Linked DNA regions of Homo sapiens: region 2 is linked to region 1. Evidence: promoter capture Hi-C in human tissues and cell types (Jung and others, 2019). All regions are on one chromosome and are shown on one strand. The core of a region is centred on a gene start or on the middle of the fragment in contact, and the rest is flanking DNA. Distances in the headings are between cores, read along the strand shown.

Evidence for each region. The method cuts DNA at HindIII sites, captures the fragments that hold promoters and counts their contacts. A contact is called where the count stands out against the background at its distance.
Region 2: a contact is called between a fragment that was not itself captured here and the fragment with the promoter of FANCC in region 1, in 1 of the 25 tissues and cell types used here (dorsolateral prefrontal cortex).

What each region holds. Positions count from the first base shown.
Region 1 is chr9:95,316,007-95,319,147 of GRCh38, forward strand. It overlaps FANCC (FA complementation group C), which reads right to left and starts at 1,703. Exons shown (of 15, transcript NM_000136.3): 1 at 1,520-1,703. RefSeq lists a silencer at 1,055-1,374. The HindIII fragment of the contact is 11,527 bases long and covers 1-3,141 here.
Region 2 is chr9:96,007,040-96,010,397 of GRCh38, forward strand. The region is part of intron 18 of ERCC6L2 (ERCC excision repair 6 like 2); the gene reads left to right. Among named protein-coding and RNA genes, the nearest start is that of LINC00092, 13 kb to the right of the region's middle. The HindIII fragment of the contact is 4,239 bases long and covers 1-3,358 here.

The DNA of each region.
Region 1 (3,141 bases), core at 453-2,952:
GACAAAACAAAAAATACCAATATAGAGCCTGCTTTTCTTTTCTGATGCCTTGGTAAACGTTTTTGGAGAAATCAAGAGAAAATATGACCGAATAAAGCAAAAATAAATTCGAATGTATAATATACAAAGTATAATTAGTCCAGTTCTCAAGAAGCAGGCTCTATTACTGGGAGTAGTGGGTTGGTGAAAAAGATCTCTGATATATCTAGGAAAACAAATTCTTTTTCGATGCAGCCTTTCTTGTATATGAATAATGTATATGAGTGCTTATTTCCAGGTGACTCTGGTACAGCACATAACATTGAAACATCAATTCAAGTTTAATGTATAAAGTCGCAATGAACATGTTTTCCATCTAAGCTTAGGTAATGAATGATCTCAACACATGGTATGAATTCTACTGTTTGTAACAACCTTTCAGGGGAGTAAGGAGAAAACGATCTGTCTGAGGGCATATCACTGACAGTGAGTGACAGCCACAAAGAGCTGAAGTTGGGTGGCCCAAAAGTGCTCTGCTCATTTGATAAATGCTAAGTCAAATCACATCACAGTTTAGATGCATTAAATGGGGCACAAGTTAGAATAAAATCAGATGCCCGGGAGTTTTCCAAGTTTCAGATTAGAACAAAAGTCCAGGCACATACAGGACTTTGCTAGAAAACTCCTTGGTCTCTTCCCTTAAGATTCTGGTACCCAATTTCCCATGTTATAAAACTCCAAGTCTTTTCCCCCATTCGGTGCGCTGGACACATAAGATCATAGAGGGTTCGTAGTTGTAAACGCACCCACCTAAAAAATTAAAAAGAGCAAACCAACAAACAGCACCTGAAAAATCTCTCACGGGCTTTGAAGATATGGCCTGGCGTCCACAAAAAGAATGGAGGGAAGACACTGGCCTCTGCGAACCCGCCTCCCTCCGGGAATAAAAGGCGGAGGGCGGGAGGGGTAACAGCCGCGCCCCGGGCTCCTCTAATTGGACCTCGCCCCTCCTGGCGCCCCGGCGAATGGGGTTTGGGGGCAGGGGTGTGAGGGACGGGGAGGACGAGGCCAGCTGTAGAGGGCGACCGGCTCAAAGGGGCGAGCTTTTCACGGCTCCCACGAGTCCGAGGCAGAGAAATTCACCTTTGCTCCTCTCCTTTGAAGAAGACATAGCTGCCTGCGCTCAATGAACAAAAAGAACCAAAACGCCAACACCCGGCTCCCGCCTCTCCGGGGGCTCCCTTCCGCGCGACCCCAGCGCCGGCTCCCGCCCCCGCTTTCCCCGCCCTGGCCCCGCCCCGCGGGCTGGCACCGCCCGCCACCTTCCGCCTCCCGCCTCCCGCCTCCCGCCTCAGCCTTAGCCACAGCCCTGCGCCGGCGGGAACCCCTCTCGCCCACCGCAAGGCGCGCCTGGCCCACCCGCTCTCGCGAGCCTTCCCTCTTGCCCCTCGCCTCCTCCTCCCGCTCTCGCCGCTGACGTGTCGGCCAGACCCCCGAGGGAAGCCTCCGCCCTCGCTGCGTTCTGCGGCCTGCCGCTTACCGGGTGGTCCTCGCGGGAGCTGCTTCAGCAGTTTGGGCAGTGGCGGAAAGGAAGCCACCGCCCGGGATCTGTGGCTTGAAAATTTGGCTTTGCCTCGTATTGGCTTTTTGAGTTTTTTTGGAATTTTCCCGCGGTCGCCCGGCAGTGGAGCCGCGCGCGCGCACACGTGTCAGCAGTGCATTCTGGGGCCTGGCTAGCGGCCCCGCGCGCTCCCGCGGCGTCGCGGGAAAATTCCGACGAATCTCGGGTCCGTGGGGCGGGGCGGGCGCGGCCAGGGCTCTGGCGGAAGTGGGCCCGGCTGGGGCGGGTTCTAGGCGAGCGGAGTCGGTACTGCTCCAGTGTTCCCGGTTTCGCGCGGAAGCCCCGGCGGGAGCAGGGTTGCAGCAGCGCCCGCGGAGAAGGGGCGCTGGCTTCTTCCATATTCTGTTCAAAATGTAGGGGAGGTAAAATGGAAATTAGTTCTTTTGAAGAAAAGTTGAGGCTTTGTCAACGGGGTAAAACCTCTAAAATAAGATTTTCTAACTGCGTTCTAAACAATAGCAACAAAAAAGGCATCTTCAGTTAATGATTTCCCCTACCGTACATTAGTTCCATACAGTGTTTGGTCGGGGTTCAAATCAGTTCAACGCTGTACATAAACCACCCAAACAAATATTAATAAAATTTTCTCCAAACTCCCATTTATGACAATGGCATTAGCTTGTCTTGGTGAATTTTTTTTTCTTCTAGGATCTGACGACTTAAGCTTTAAAATGTCTTAAATCAATGCCTCACAACCATAAATCATAATCATAAAACTACAGCTTAGGTCGGGCGCTGTGTCTCAGGCCTGTAATCCCAGCACTTTGGAAGGCCAAGGCGGGCGGATCACGAGGTCAGAAGATCGAGACCATTCTGGCCAACATGGTGAAACGCCGTCTCTACTAAAAATACAAAACGTTTAACCGGGCGCGGTGGCGGGCGCCTGTAATCTCAGCTACTCTGGAGGCTGAGGCAGAATAGCTTGAACCAGGGAGTCAGAGGTTGCAGTGAGCCGAGATCGCGCCACTGCACTCCAGCCTGGCGACAGAGGGAGACTCCGTCTCAAAAAAAAAAAAAAAAAAGCTACAACTTCACATATACGTTCAAAAACACACTACAGGCCGGGCGCGGTGGCTCACACCTCTAATCCCAGCACTTTGGGAAGCTGAGGCGGGTGGATCACCTGAGGTCAAGAGTTTGAGACCAGCCTGGCCAACATGGCAAAAACCCGTCTCTACTAAAAATACAAAAATTAGTGTGTACTCCCGGCTACTTAGGAGGCTGAGGCAGGAGAATTGCTTGAACCCAGGAGGCGAAGGTTGCAGTAAGCCAAGATCGCACTACTGCACTCCAGCCTGGGCAACAGAGCGAGACTCTGTCTCAACAAAAAACACCACAAAGCTGTGTGTGCTTGTAATAAAAATAGCTCTCAAGTATTTAAACATGTCCAACTATTCCTATGGTGAAGAAATACCCGTTTTACCAATGAATACTTTCAATTCAGAGACTAATTTGCAGAGGTTATACATTTATAAGTGATACAATAAGTATATAGCATAGCAATAGCAACAATCTGTTTAAGAATTAAAGGTAGTTAAAAA
Region 2 (3,358 bases), core at 747-3,246, 690 kb after region 1:
AGCAAGGAAGCTGAAGAATGTTTGTAAAGGAGTGATTATAAAGTTAAACCTAAGCTGGACAAGGGAGGCTGATGGATAGTGTAAAAGCACAAGAGTCAGTGAATTTGAGGACTTGAGGTTACCAGCATATCCCCCAGCATTGCTGTTGTGGGCAGTCATCAAGCAGCTGAGCTGGAGCCTTAGATGACTAAGTCAGGGACATGGAGGTTGAGCTGTTGATGGTAATGACAATGGCAATTTATAAACTTGGGAGTAGGGGCTAACATGGAGTTAAGATGAGTTTGGAGGTGAGCTAAAGAAAGTGGTGGGCCAGATATGGGTGGGACATCCACATGGATATTGATGTTATCAAGAATGATGGCAAGAGATGGGGTGGGAAGCAAGATTAATCCAGGATCTTGAGAGTTTAGCTGCTAGCAGGAAGCAATGAAGGGGTCACTGAAGATTGAGGAGAGAACAGTTTAGCTGGATGGCATAAATGTTAAAGAGGGGAAGGAGTTTTCTGAGAAAAGAATGGTCTGGAAGCAGCATTGTCTAGAAGCACTAACCCTGAGGTTGGAGAGCTGTGAGATGCAAGAGCCTTGCCTTGCAAGGGCCGCATGGGAAGAGGCAATATCAGCAGAGCACAGGACCATTCAGCATAGAAGCAGAAGACTCGGGGGACTCTTGGTTCCAGGGGCACGGAGGGATGGCTTGGAAGGGTGAGGGATTGGATTAGATCAAGATGTACAGTAGGAGGAGATGAGAGGCCAGTGGTAATGGATGACAGAAGTGAACAGGGATGGGAGGCATGGTTGGACTGGTCCTGCTGGCTTCTGGGGGCAGTGGGAAATGTCTCTGGGTTCAAAGTACTTCCTGCAGGGGTTTGGCGACTCCCAGGCAGCTGGTTCCTCAGCTGCCCAGGGAAGAGCTGGCCCCGCAGCTCTTTGGAGTGCTGGCGTGGCTGGTTGGAGTATGGCTCTCAGCTCTCTGCAGTTGCAGAGAAAGGTGACCACCTTCCACACTGCCACACAGTGTACCTACCCACAGAACAGATCGGCAACAAGGATTTTTGCAGAGTGTGCCTTTTCACTTTGGGCAAATATTTTGCCAGGAGACTGACCATATACCTTTTTTTCCCTAAGTTTGCATGCGTTCTCTGTTCTCGATCGCCTCCAAGAGCCATGTTGGGACACTGGTTTGTTCTGTTCTGGGCTTCAATGTCAGTGCAACTTTAATATCTTCCCTAGATATATTGTATGCTGCTTATAGTCCTTTTTCATCTTCTTTGCTCACCAGTGCCTTCTTAAAAGGTGGTTTTGAAGCTGCCTCTTCAACCTCATGATCAGTAAGTTTGGAGGGGGACTCCTTTGTTGACTGGTAGTCTCTGAGTGAATTATCTAGCTTTCTTTTCCATGTATTTGTGACCTTACAGAGATTAGGGAACTTTGCAGGTGTTAATTCTTTGTGCCCTCTGAGTCAGAAGACTAAGAAATGGAAGTTCTTCCCCATGTTTCTCAATGAGTCGTCCTTCAATGCTCATGAATTTCATTATGTCACAACCTGCACCAGGGAGCAGTGAGGCATGATTGAATCCTTCCTCAATGAAACTTCACATTATAACATATGAGGTCATTTCAGAAAAGGTTGTGATGAGCTTAAACTGACTTATGAAGGCACACCCAGTGACCCCAAGGTTAGGGTCGGTACCAAGTTGAAAGAGTAATCGTGTTATCTTGATGTCAAGACCCTTGCTAGCTAGTCATGCTGCGGCTTCGTTGAAGTCACATGCTGGGTTGAGTTTGACAGAGGTTGTGGTGCCTCCTGGCTTGACAGCTGAGAGTAGAGCACTGAATCTTTTGTTTATCTGCTGCATCAGGTTACAGCTGGGTTTGCACACAGCATTATAGATAAGCGAGAAAGCAGCCTTCACAGCCTTGCACTTGGTGGTAACATTACCCATTTTTCCAGTCAGGTATGCACCATGGTGCTATTTTTATTTTGCCTTTCTCTCCAACAATTGATCTGTCCAGCCTGATGAAATCCTTCAGCTCCGGCACCAGATCAGATGTTGCAATCAGCATTGTGAAAGTGACTGATACAGCACCTGCTGTGGTCGGGGAGTTTGCTTTTGGAATGGACACAATGCTGTACAGCATGCTGCATACGCATCTTGAGCCGTGGGCAGAGCGATGACAGACTCGTCAGCTTCGTTGAGTTCTAGTGGCATGTTCAAGTGTTTCAATCACTATGTGCCTTATTGGCTTTGGTTACCAATTAGGGATGTAGAAGTAAAACTGTCCAACCATGTACATTTTACCACCCTCTTTTCCATTAACTGTCCTAGTCAATCAGAATCAAGACTGCACCTCCCTCTACTGCAGTCACATGATCATCTGAATGAAGTGTTCAGTCCTCCTCTCCTTCCGGAAGCTTAGGCAGACAGAAGATGAATTTAGGTGTGTTCCACCTCCCTTCCTCCAGAAAGAGAGAGGATTTTGAATTGTATCCATGATACATAACTGCTTTTGATACACTTGCTGAAAGATACATATCTTTGGTTTCTTTTTTTCCCCCTTTCCCTAAGTGGGTTATGGAAGTCTACTCTAGTTAACTAACTTTTCTTCACAAACTGGCTGGCTTATGCCCCCTGTTTGTACCCTGCAGTTCCTTAAATTCTTAGAGAAAATTCTGAAGGCCCAGAATTAGGAAAGCCAGTTAAAAGGCAGAAATAAAGTGAATGATAATTATAGCTTATCCTGTAAGCAGCAACCATGTGGCATAGTGTACTTGCAGACTACTCAGATAAAATGAGGTTAGAAGCAGCTCTCCTCCCAGAGGTGACAGCTCACAGGGTCACGGGTGAGGTCGTGGTTTCAGCACAGCAGAGGTGAAGTTACTTTGGCAGTTGCTGAGACACCACCAAGCCTTGGATAAATAAAAGACATCAGCTTGTAACCTTGCCAATCACTTAATCTTTACAAACACAAATATTTAATAGAAGGGCCATGAAAATGGATTTGAAGATGAAAAATAGACAGAATAATATCTCATTACTTCATGTGAAGTGAAAACTGGAACCTCTTAAGAACATGCTTGTTACTTTCCAACAAGAACATTGGCAATTTCCAGGACAGAAAGTTGGAGTCATGTGTATGTGTTACTAAATATTCTGTTGGAGATGAAAGTGGCTGTTGATCAAGCATGTATAGTATCTGGATTTCGGGAAGTTAACAAGACAGTGTAGTGAGGACTAGAAGCCACAGGCCCATCTGAAGCCACAAAAGAAAGTTGTGAGTGTGCTTTATGGTCTGCCCCTAAAAGCAAAGGAAACACAAACTATGTAACCTGGTCTACGTGGCAGAAAGAAAAGTGGCAT